2 separate regions of the Homo sapiens genome follow, and region 1 is linked to region 2. Evidence: promoter capture Hi-C in 16 types of primary human blood cells and fetal thymus (Javierre and others, 2016). All regions are on one chromosome and are shown on one strand. Each heading gives the region's core, a stretch centred on a gene start or on the middle of the fragment in contact. The rest is flanking DNA. Distances are from core to core; before and after follow the strand shown. Region 1 holds the start of JADE1 (jade family PHD finger 1). Region 2 holds the start of RAPGEF2 (Rap guanine nucleotide exchange factor 2).

Evidence for each region. Contacts are between HindIII fragments. The CHiCAGO score rates a contact against its expected background, and 5 or more counts as called.
Region 1: the fragment with the promoter of JADE1 here is called in contact with the fragment with the promoter of RAPGEF2 in region 2 in 1 of 17 cell types (total CD4 T cells); the score reaches 6.5 in total CD4 T cells.

Annotation. Positions count from the first base shown.
Region 1 is chr4:128,807,656-128,813,282 of GRCh38, reverse strand. JADE1 (jade family PHD finger 1) reads right to left here and starts at 3,583. Exons shown (of 11, transcript NM_199320.4): 1 at 3,406-3,583. RefSeq lists enhancers at 1-327, 3,071-3,180 and silencers at 771-1,340, 1,521-1,620, 1,741-2,020, 2,651-2,770, 3,281-3,760. The HindIII fragment of the contact is 6,052 bases long and covers 1-4,367 here.
Region 2 is chr4:159,099,796-159,106,218 of GRCh38, reverse strand. RAPGEF2 (Rap guanine nucleotide exchange factor 2) reads right to left here and starts at 3,140. Exons shown (of 30, transcript NM_001394067.2): 1 at 1,988-3,140. The coding sequence starts at 2,056. RefSeq lists silencers at 2,001-2,420, 2,388-2,682, 2,431-2,720, 2,761-2,980, 3,111-3,650 and an enhancer at 3,299-3,990. The HindIII fragment of the contact is 5,553 bases long and covers 65-5,617 here.

The DNA.
Region 1 (5,627 bases), core at 2,334-4,833, about 30 Mb after region 2:
CACCTACAACAAATTATTACATCAAAAGTGTTGACTCAATGCAAGTATGGACATATTGAATGCTTCCTTTCTCCACCTTTCTCCACCTGTGATTAAATCTTGATCAGTTGTGATATGATCAAAATGCAACTTACTATAAAATCTGTAACCACTGGGGAGTCACTACCTAAATCAGCTTTCAGGGAAATAATTTCCCTCTATCTTAAAACTAGTTCATTAGCTTTGAAAGGTATTAGCCTTGAGCTACAAGTAGCAAGAGAGCTAGCCTTCATGGCGGGTATTATAAAAAGGAAAAATAGTTCACCTAATAAAAAACCTTTGGGAAAGAACCCCCTAAGCATTCCCATTAATGGAAACCTCAGATCCTCTCCTACTTTCCTAAAAACGTAGCTGTCTCAGGTCATTCACTGCAGCTGTCATTTTACAAAAGAAAATTTAAATTCCCTCTTGGCCGGGGCAAATAGAGGGCGACAGCCCCTCGCCCCTGCCGAAGTAAGGCAGGGCGCCAGCCCTCTCGTTACTAGAAGGCAAGCTAAAGCTCCTTTTAAACGGTCTCCGGATGACGACGCATTCCTAACGGGTTTCGAAGGCATGTTTAAATCGCCCGCTTTTTTGTTTGCTCTCAGCATTCACCGGCGCCGGGACTGCGGCCGCCCCCACCCGCTTGGGGTGGGAAACCTGGGGCCAGCGGAGCCTGGCGCGGGAGGAATCCTGGGGCGAGGGGAGACCCGGGACGCGCCAAGCCGGGGTTGAGGACTCGAGAATAAGGAGCTCTAGTGGGAGGGTGGCGGAGTGAGAGGGGACGTGAGAAGGCTAAGGATCCCAGCAAGGGGGGCACCCCGGGGTTGTGGGGGAGCTCGGCCGCCGCCCCGCAGCGGCGAACGCTCCGCGCGGCTCCCGCCGCCCGCCGGGGAATGCGCAGGGCCGCGGTTCCGCGCGGCGCCGACCCCTCCCTCTCTCCCAATCCTCCTCCTCCTCCTCCTCCCGAGGCGACAGAAACAACAGCGCGGGAGGAGGGGAAAGTAACTCCCGGCACCTCCGCCGGAATTAGCCCCGGTGCAGTGATGACACCTTCTCGTGGCGCAACCAAGCCCCGCTCCCTCCGCAGCGGCGTCCCCGCCGCCGCCGCCCTCTCCATTTGAAAGTGGCCACCCCCCGCCGCGGCAGCTCCTCCCGCCCCGCCGCCGCCAGCTGCACCAATCCGCTCGGCCCCAGTTGCAAATCAAACGCTCCCTCGCGTCCAGAAGCCACTTGCGCCGCTGGAAACGGCCGCGCCGTCCCCCTCCCCGAGTCCCTCCGGGGCGGCACCTTCGGGCTGGGGCGGGCGCGCCGGCGAGAAACGGTTTTAAGATGGGAGCGGCAGCGGCGGCGAGGAGCTCCGAGCGGGCTCGGCTCCCGCTCCCGCTCCCGCCCCCAGACAGTTCTGGAAACTGTGTATCACCTCTGTCACAGGAAGCCATCCGGCGAGGAAGGCGGCGCGGAACCAACAAACAAACGCCTGCGGCCGCCCGCCGGAACCGGCGCGGGGACCGCGTCGGGCTTCGGGCCGTTCCCGGGGCGGGGGCGCAGCGGCCACCCCCGCGCCGCGGGCTTTGTGCGGGGCGGGCGCGGCGGGCCGGGCGTCCCCGCCCCCGCAACCCCCCACCCCGGCCCGGGCGGCGCAGCTGGGACCGTTAGGTGACGCTCCGGCCGCAGCGGAGAAGCAGCGCCTCGGCCGCCGCCCGCCCCCATTTCCACACTGGGCCGCCTCTCCTCAAACACCAGAGGCGGGCTACAAAAGTTGGCCCCGGGGCCACCCAGCACCTGCCCACGTGCCGCGGAGGCTCGCTCCCGAGTCTCCCCCGGTTCCCTCCCCCGCCGCCCTCGGCCGCCAGGTCACCTATTACCGGTGGGAGGGGAGAGAGGCTGCTATTTAAACGCCCGCGGAAGTTGAGGCACCCCCACTGGCGGGTGCCGTGCACCTGCCTCCCGCCGCCGCGCTCCGCCACTTTGAGCAGCAGCCGCGTCCTCAGCCCCGCCTCCTGCCCGAAGGCGGGCGGGGGGGAGCGGGAAGGAGGTGGAAGGGATCGAATTTCTCCAGCAAATGGGACCGTTCCGACAGGATTCGGTTCCCCGGTCAACATTCCACATTCCATCCCTCTCCCGCATTTGCAAGCCAATGCCGAGCAACCCGGAAAGCCTGCTGGCTACCGAACAACAGCCCCCAACTCGCAAACACAGACTCACAGGCACAAGACACGTGCACTGAAGGGCTCTGCAACTTGCAGTCCCGGGGTACACACTACACGTTCATTTAAGGAAGCAAGGAGACCAAGAGACCCCACCCCCACAATTTGCAGATGGTGCCAAAGGTTGCAATTTGCAATCCCCTTTAAGTTCACGATTAATCGGTACTTTGCTCTACCAACGCCAACTCCTACCCCATTTCATCGATTAAGGGGTTTTACACTTTACAAGCAGTCGCGCTGTAAGTAAAAGATCTGATCACTGGAAGCCCAGTTCGGAAGAATCTAATTGCCAAACTGTCCCTCCACCCCCACCCCCACCCCCCTCTCACTGCCCTTGAATTGATGCAATGAATATTTTGGACATGTGGTGACGCGGTGACAAGAGCCAGGGCTGCGGCCACCACACACAGATGTACCTACGCACACCTATGTTTGGACAAATACAGTCCCACCACACACACGGTCTCACACACTCTGGATTCATATATGTACGCGAACCTGCGTTCTGCCATTGCCATCTGTCTACCAAGTTGCTACTATGCTTTCCACTTTCATGCAGCCTAATGCACTTTGGCTTTCTAAAAAAAAAAAAAAAAAAAAAAAACCTATAAACTAAAGCCAACTTAAACTGGGCTTCTGCTCCTAAACGCGTTTAATTGATGATTCACCTGAAAACCGCATGTTCTTCGCAAATCCAAAAGAAGAAATAGCTCTAAGTCTTCAGCCCCCCAAATTTGAAAAAAAAAATCATAATAAAACTTACTGATCCAACATAGATCAATTCTCAGGATCCAAAAATCATCCTCTCCTCCTCCTCCGGCCCCCGCCCCGGCAATGCCCAAGTTACTGGTGGGATAGTAACGCTGCGCTCAGCGGCTGCCTCCCTCCCTCCTCGCTACAGATCGAGAACCCAATCTTTTGGCGCCATATTAATGACGTATTATATTATTTCCACTAGGCAGCGACCTTCGGCATTAAATTACTCCCGAGAACTCCCGAGCAAAGCAACAAAACCATCAAATATGGCTGAGCCTCTCGGCTCGTCCTGCAGCCGCCGCCGCCGCCGCCGCCGTCGCCGCCGCGGGACCGGGACGCGCACACGGACCCACACGCGGACACGCGCGGACACACGCGCGGCGCGCCCACCCCGCGCGCCCCCCGCGGCCCGCGCGCGTACCTGCTGCGGAGGGGTTCGGCCGAGGCGCTGGGCTGGGCGCCGCTCGCTCGCTCGGAGCTGCATGAGTTCGGGCCGCGGCGGGCGGGGAGCCGGGCGGGCCCCTGCTCTCGCCGGCGCGCACACACCGGGCACTCGCGCACGGAGGCACTCTCGGTCTGGCGTTTGGCTTGTTATGGAGGAAGGACTATGTGAATCAAACTCATTTCTGGGTCACTGCTGCCACAGGGGGGAGCACTTTAATCCCTTGCCAAAACGAGAGGGTGGGGACGGGAGGGCGGAGGGAGCATGCGGGGAGCCCGCGGCGCTGGGGCTCGGTCCCTCGTTAACTCTTCGCAGCCCTAGCCGCAGCCGGCTCAGCCTGCGCCAGTGGGGGCTCGCAAAGAACGGCACTGTTCAGCTCTTAGTCTCTTTCCTTACTTCACCCACCTTGTGAGCCTAGAAATTCTTGAGGTGTCTCCAAGCAAGTGGGTTTTTAAATTAGCCCCTTCAAACTGCTGTCCCAGTTTCAACTCTTGTCTGACATCTAGAAATGGATTCTTTCAGAATAGTTTAAAATTACGTAGATTAAAATATGGCTATTAAGATGTGTCATTTGGGTGAAAGGTTTTATTTTTAGGCTGAGTGGCAAAATAGTTGTTTGTAGTAACAGTTTTAGGGAGTTGCACATTAGGATGACATTTTTAAATAGAGAGAATCCAATTCTGAATAACATCTTTACCTAAATTTGTATGGAAGTGATCATTGCAAATGAGCATTAATTCATTAGAAGATATTATTTATAAATTGACACCACTTTATGTTACACATTACTACAGAATTGGACATCTTCTCCCAAATATGAGGAGTGAGCCTAATGCTAAAACTAGAATTGCAGACTAGTATCAGATCAGTCATCGGAGATTCATTTGGGGGTATTTATGTGTAAAAAGGAGTGGTTACTGATTTTCTGCAGAAGACAAGCTTGCTTTTTCATATAGAGGGCAACATACTTCTTTCATGGATTCATCTAGGGAAATAGAGGGGTATATGACATTCAACTTCAATAAGAAAAAAGTACGGATTAAAAACTCCCATTCAGGCCGGGCGCGGTGGCTCACGCCTGTAATCCCAGCACTTTGGGAGGCCTAGGTGGGCGGATCACCTGAGGTCGGGAGTTCAAGACCAGCCTGACCAACATGGATAAACCCTGTCTCTACTAAAAAATACAAAATTAGCCGGGCATGGTGGTACATGCCTGTAACCCCAGCTACTGGGGAGGCTGAGGCAGGAGAATCGCTTGAACCCGGGAGGTGGAGGTTGTGATGAGCCGATAATGCGCCATTGTGGTCCAGCCTGGGCAATAAGAGCGAAACTCCGTCTCAAATAAATAAATAAATAAATAGGAACAGTGATCACTAATTACAAAATTGAATATCGAACCCAAAAGGCATATGTGTCCACCGGAAGAATCTTTCTGAATATATCAGGTTTGATTTCATGTAATCCCACACCAGCCCAACTACCCACATCCAGACCCACATCCAGAACGTTATAATCTGATAAATGCGACAAAACAAAACTAATTGAGCCTTTCAGTTATTTTTCAGAAAACAAAGTAAGCCAGTGGAAATCCTAAGTACTGTATATGTCCTCTCCTGTTTCGCTAATGAAGAGTAGAAAGACTCCCTGCCAGTCCTATTCATGTGTTCACTTAATCCTGTTCAAAGCGATCACACATGTAAAGCACTGTGTTAACTATCATTATTACTATTCTTAGTATTGCACTTGTTATTGTTATTTTTACTGGTTCACCTCGCACATACTCTCTGTAGAAGTTAAAGTACACAGGCTTTGTAGCCAGACATGGCTGGATCTGGCTCTATCAGTTAGCAGTTTGTGTGCCTGTGGGATAAAAGAACTTTATCTGAGCCTCAGTTTCTTCCCTGGTAATAAAATTAAGTTAACAGCTGGCCCCTAACCTGAAGGGTTGTTAAGAGGAATCAGGCAACCTCATAACAGTTCAGGAGTAGAGGCCCTGGCAGTAGGAGGTTGTCCACTCCCTCGGCCATCACTCAACTCCTTCTTGGTTTTCTCTCCATCAAAAATTGCAACTTTTCTAAATTCCAAACAGCCTTACTTCACGCATTCATGTTAAGAAAATTTTTGTCGACCGGGCGCGGTGGCTCATGCCTGTAATCCCAGCACTTTGGGAGGCAGAGGCGGGCGGATCACGAGGTCAGGAG
Region 2 (6,423 bases), core at 1,891-4,390:
TGTTTACTTTTTCTATGAAGGTTTGGTAGGGCAAATGGGCTGCCTTCCGACTGTCAATAAAGCTTTCATGTCGTGGGTTAGTAGTAGCTGGCCCAGGCCAAGTTCTGTGTTGGGTCAGTTTTTACTCTATTCTACACAACTGGCAGGGGAACAGGAAAGTTTAACAGTTCATTTATTTGGCACAGTGGGCCCACAGTCACAGTGGAGGTTTTGTCTCTTCTAGTCTTGTTTGGTGACCCGCCCCCCAACCTGATAGTAGGTTTTAGTCATTGTTATTCTTCTAACTAATCAACCAAATGCACCACTTCCCCCTTCTCTAATTTCCACCAAAGGCCTCTGACATCATTTTCTGACCAGCCTTGCTAGGTTCTAATATTCTCAGCATGCGTAATTTCACTTGGCACTTAAAACAATATTCTTGAAAGGAAATGAAATATCTCACTGAAATCTGCTTTTCCTTCACACTGAGACAGGGAATGTGCATTTTCAGATGCAGAAGACTGATCCAACTGACCATTTTAAAACAAATAGATGAGAAAGGCATAGGAAAGGCAGCGTGTGCAACACCAAGAGAAGAACAAGATCAATGCAGGACATTCCTTGTTGGGATAAAAATAGTCTTTTAGAATGGGAACTTTCTGGAGACAGATAAATTTTCTTGTAAAATTACAGCCATCTTCCACACGTTTGATAAATATGTGCAATCTATCCATGATCTCCCAGATGTGACAGCTCCATCAAGGAAAATGAAAAATCAAAAACGGTACCAGGTGCCACTCTTGGGGCTTGTCCAAAGGCAGCCAGGGGAAGAGTCTATTTTATTATGCTCTCCCCACAGTAAATAATAATCAACATCAGAGAAGGAGAGCATTTGGATTTGAACAGATGGCATCCAACATCTAACAAGCGAAGCAACACTTTCAAGCATTAGATCCTAAATGTCTGATGGTCCCAAGGATCAGGAGGGCTTATTTGTCTTAAGAGGGTTGGCAGGCAGGATCTCCTATAGTCACCATCCCAACGCTTAGGAATATGCGTCATTATCCAGTCAGCAACTAAAGGCGGAGAAAATTAAGCTACCACATTTTTATAAAATTTCCCCCTCTCCAGTAAAACTTGAGACAACCAAATCCAACCCTATCAGCCGCTATAAGTAAGAGAAGAGTAAGCCTGCAGGTAAACAAATGTATAAAGGTTAACAAACTTATCTAATTTTGACAAGGTTGTGCAACACCAAAAGAATCCGCAGGGTGCCCTTCCCGAGGGTGTACTGGAACATGCCTGCTCTGCAGCTATGTCTGCAATTTAAACTAAAAGCACTAACTTAGCTATTCAACTTTTTTTCCCTTCAATTGAAAGCAGTATCCTTTAAAAAATAAAAGCAAAACAGTAAACATACAAACACCTCAATGTTTTACTGAAGGTCAGCATGGATTTGTCTTTAGCACAACCGTACAGGTTTCCTCCTATACCTTTCAAACACCACTGAACTCCAAGGGTCACTTGCAAGGGGAGGAACGGATCTGGAGTCAGAGGGAGCAAGAGTCGCTGCCCGAGGGGAGATGAGACTCCATCCCCTGAGATTCAGAGGCCACGGAGGGCGGCTGGGGAGAGGGAAAGCTAGAGAATTCACACATTCACACACATACACACACACACACACACTCTCTCTCTCTCTCTCTCTGTCTCTCCCTCTCTCTCTCTCTCTCTCTCTCTCTCTCTCTCTCTCGGCTGGGCAACATAGTGGGAAAGGTCAGTCATGGGGAGGGAAGAGTTAAGGAGCAGAATGTCAAGGAGAGGGAAAAATAAAACCAGGATAGGCGGAGTAAAAGACTCGGAGGTGGGATGCCTTTGGAAGTTGGGGGTCCTGATGCAAGAAGTGGGGTGCTCGGGGCGAACTGTGTCAGGAAGGAGGTGGGGGGACAGGGGAAGACGCAGCCTGCGAGGCAGAAATCCGGCCAAGGGCAGGCGGCCGCCGCGTTCTCACCTGGGGGGTCCTTTCGGGGGGATTCTTCATCACCGCCTGGCGGAAGCTGTTATCTACGTAGGACGCCATCTCCCCTCTGGGAGCGGGCCGGGGCCGCTCCGCACCCTGGCCGGCCTCCTCCCGGCCCAGCGCCGCTGCTGCCTCCGCCCTGCGCGCTGCGCCCGCCCGCCCGCCCGCGACTAATCAGCCAAACCGCGGCGGCGGCGGCGCGGGGCCCGCGGGGGGGCGGCTCGGCTGGGCCCGGCGGCCGAGAGCGCGGTACAGGCGCGAGGGGCTGGACGCAGCCGGGAGGGTCGCGGCGCCCCTAGGCTGCCGTGCGATGCGGCCCGCAGGCGGAACTCCCCTTCCTCCTCCTCCTCCTCTTCCTCGCCGCTCCGCCGGCTTCCTCCGGCCCTGGCTCGACACGCCTCCCCGGCTCCACTCGGGGGACAGTGGCGGCTCCTCCTGGCCCCAGCGGGCCCGAGTTATTTTTAGGGAGGTACGAGTGGCAGTGGGGAGGGCTGTGGGCAGGCGGAGCCTCCTCCCCCACGGCGCTGAGGGTCGCCCCCTCCTCTCAGGGGCTTGCGCAGCCGCCGCCCAGGGGTCTCCGAGAATCACTTGGATCTTCCGCGTCCCCAGTCCTCGGGCGCCTCGGCCGCCGGTCGGGAGGACGGACCAGGTGGGTCTGGCTCAGGTCCGGGCGCTGCGAAGCCCGATCGCCTCGGCCGCCGCTCCTGGTCTCTGTCTACTGGGCTCGGCCGTCCCTCCCGACTGCTGCTGCATCCCCTCGGGCCGCCCAGCCGCCGCCGCCGCCGCCTCTGCTGCTCGGGCCGCCGCTGTGGGCTCCGCCGCCGCCGCCTCCCCCCATCAGCGCGCCCGGAGCGGAGCTGCCCCGGCGCCGGCGCCGCCGCGGCCAGAGCACCCGGCCCGGGCTGCAGCCCTCCGGCCCAGTCGCTCTCGGCAACTTTGTTCCTCGTCTGCGCGGGGCGGAGGAGGGGGAAGAGGGGGCCGCGGACAGCCCGGGTTCGGACTCCCGGCGCGGGCGTCCGAGGGCCGAAAGCCGAGAGCCGCGCACAGCCCCCTCGGAGAGAGTGTTTGGGAAGCGGCGATTCCCCTCCTCTTCCTCCGCCTCTTCCTCCTCCTGCGCCTTCTCCGGCCGCCGGAGCCGCTCCTCAGGGAGGAAGCGGCCTCTGGGGCTTGTTGCTTTGTGCTGCAACCATGGTGAGGAATGAGTGACAGCGTGGGGGCGAGTCGGCGGCCGCCGCATCATCGGGGGGCGGGGCAGCCCCGTCGCGCCGGGTCCCGCCTCCCCGCTCCCCGCCCGCCAGCGGCCGCGCCCTCGCGTCTGAGCGGCACCTTCGGCGGCGCCCAGGTGAGCAGCGCTCTGGCCGCAAGTGGGTCGCGGAGCCCTCGGCCGGGCTGTCGGGTCCCGCGCGCGGCCTGGACCCGAAGAGGGGGCGCAAGTCCTGGTGCCCCGGAGAGAAGCGCAGGGCTTTCCTCACGCAGTGTCCCCCACTGTCTCACGCCGCGCCCCCTCCCCACACCCGACGCGCCCTACTAGGAGACCCAGCCGCGTCGGGTCGCTGCTCCCCGCCCGCTCCTGGCGCCACGCCGCCGCCCAGGGGCTGAAAGCTAACCTTGGGCAAAAGACCGGCCCACCAGCCCGGGCTGTACTGGGCATTCTTTTTGAGCCCAAGAGTTGCGTCCGAGTTGCTTCTGTGGCGATAAATCCTCTTAGGATTTATTTTGCTTATTTGTAATTTGCTGCACCCTCCCCTGCTTTCCAAGCCCACTCTGGCACCTCAGACAGTAAAATGACCACGAAATTAGGCAGAGAGGTTTCAACACCAGACCCACTACCACCCCTAGACCAACAAACACTCCAGATTTAAAGTTGATCACTCCTTAGCGACAGACCAGGATGGCAAGTTCTGTGACATAATCAGAAACATTTATTGGTAGGTCTGGCTTTGCCTTGGACAGAACAAGCCTCCTCCTCTAGATGCTCAAATTTCCAAACCGGACCCACATGGTGCAGAAACAATACCTCGTCCTTCAAGATGTCACCGCTCCTGCTGATTCCCTCAGCTCCCCCCCACTCCTTGCCCCGGCCACGTAGAGGTGTGTTAAGGTCAGCCCAAGCATCGGGGACCACTCTGCTGTTCTGGTCCCAGGGATTTATTTTTGTTTGCCCCCACCCCCCACAAGTTCTTATTTTGATATCTATAGACACAATGAGTTTTATGTATGAGCTACTGCGTTGAACTTTTCAAACATGATTTTCAACATCTAGTTTAAACACTTGGAATAGATTGTCAGCTAACATTTTGGGGTTCCTTAAGTCACCTGTGTGCACTAAACAGCTTGTGTGACTTCCTAGCAAAGGGACTGTCCCTGCCCAACCTTGTGAAAGGGAATCTGAGTTACAAATTGTATCTGTAGACCTTTTTATATTACTCTTGCTGGAACTGCTTCTCTATATTTCTCTTTCACCTCTTAGTTGAGCGCCAACATCAAATTCTCTATGACATAGGCCACTACCTTGAAAGCAAAGGAACATGAATAAGTGCCAATACAGCTCTGAAAAAAGGAGAGAGGCAGATAAAAGAATTCAAACCCAATGAAGTGAAAAAATATAACTGACATCTCCACCTGGTGTCTAATAGACATCTCAGAATTCACATGTGCAAACCAGGCTCCAGATCTCCTGTCTCAGACACCCACAGCCTTCCCCATCCTCTGTTAATCACATCTACACCATTCTCACTTCCTGGGTGAAAACGTTGACTTCCTTGACTCCTTTCTTTCTGTTATACCTCAAAAGTGTCAGTAAAAATCGTCAGCTCAACCTCCAGAATGCCATATCTGAACTCTAACCTTTATCTACCACTTCTACTGCCATGACCCTGGTGCAATCCAGCATCATGTCTGGCCAGCACTTTGTCATAACCACCCACCTGGTCCCCCTCTTTCTAACCTTGCTTGCCATACAGTTCATTTCCAACACAGCAGCCAAAGTGTGAATTCTTTTCACTCCTTCTCAAATCATTCCTCTGCTTAGCTCCTCATACCACTCAAGGTAAAAGCCAAAGTCTTACCATGGCCTGAATATCCTATGGACCTTTATCTCTCTGACCTCTTCTACTATTCTGTTCCCAAGCACATTAGCCTCCATGTTGTTTCTGAAACAGCAAATTCCAGTCTCATGACCTTTCCATCTGCTGTTCCCTCTACTGCCTGGATTATCTCTCCCCCTCTCCCCACCCCACTTGCACCCACAAAAACAAAAAACAAAAAGAAAAATGCACACACACAACAACCAAAATATAGAATGTTGTTCCTCATTGTCATCATATCTTCATTTGAATGTCACCTTCCCTGTAACTCCATACACTCTGGTTATCTTCGTCGCTTTACTTACCACCTAACATACTGTATATTGTACAGGTGCTTGCCCACTTAGGATGGGGTTACATCCTGAGAAACCATTGTAAGTCGCAAATATTGTAAGTCAGAAATGCATTTAATACCCTGATAAACCCATTATAAAGTGGAAAAATCGAAAGTCAATTTATTGACCATCGTAAATTGAGAACCATCTATACTTATTTATTTTATTTATTGTTTTATCCCTCCACTGTAATGTAAGCTTCTAAGTCAGGGATGTTTGTCCCTTTTATTTACTGCTATATCCTCAACACAAGACAGGCAGCCAACAAATAGGTATTAAATGGATACATGAAGTAGTTCATGTTACCTTGTATTTGTATGAGATTTTTACATACATTATCTCACTTGTGTCCCTGGTTGCGGGGAGAAAACTGGGAGAGGAAACTTAACCTCTCTGAGCCTGTTTTCTGTTTTATAAAAAGAGAGTACAAATTGAATAGTCTGGCCAGGCAAAGTGGCTTACACCTGTAATCCCAGCACTTTGGGAGGCTGAACCAGGAGGATAGCTTGAGGCCAGGAGTTCAAGACCAGCCTGGTCAACATAGCAAGACCACTGGCTGCACAAAAACTTAAAAAAAAAAAAGGAGCGGGGCATGGTGGGGTGCACTTGCAGTCCTAGCTACTCAGGAGGCTGAGGTGGGAGGTTATCTTGAGCCCCGGAGTTCAAGGTTGCAGTGAGCTATGATCACACCATGGCACTCCAGCCTGGGTAACAGAGCAAGACCCTGTCACAAAAAAAGAAAAAGTTGCATACCCTGAAGATTTGTGACGATCCAAGATAATACATGCAAAGTGCCTTGCATAGTGGTTTAACAACAGTATATACTCAATAAATGGTAGTTATATTTAAGATTATTCTCATCATTGCAACTCTCTGAGGCTAGTGGGACAGTGTTATCTTATTTACAGATGAAGAACTGACACTAAAATAGGCTACATGACTTGTCCTAGTTCCCGGACTGCCTTTAACTTTAGAAAGTTCTGGAGCCAGCTAACAAATGGGGATC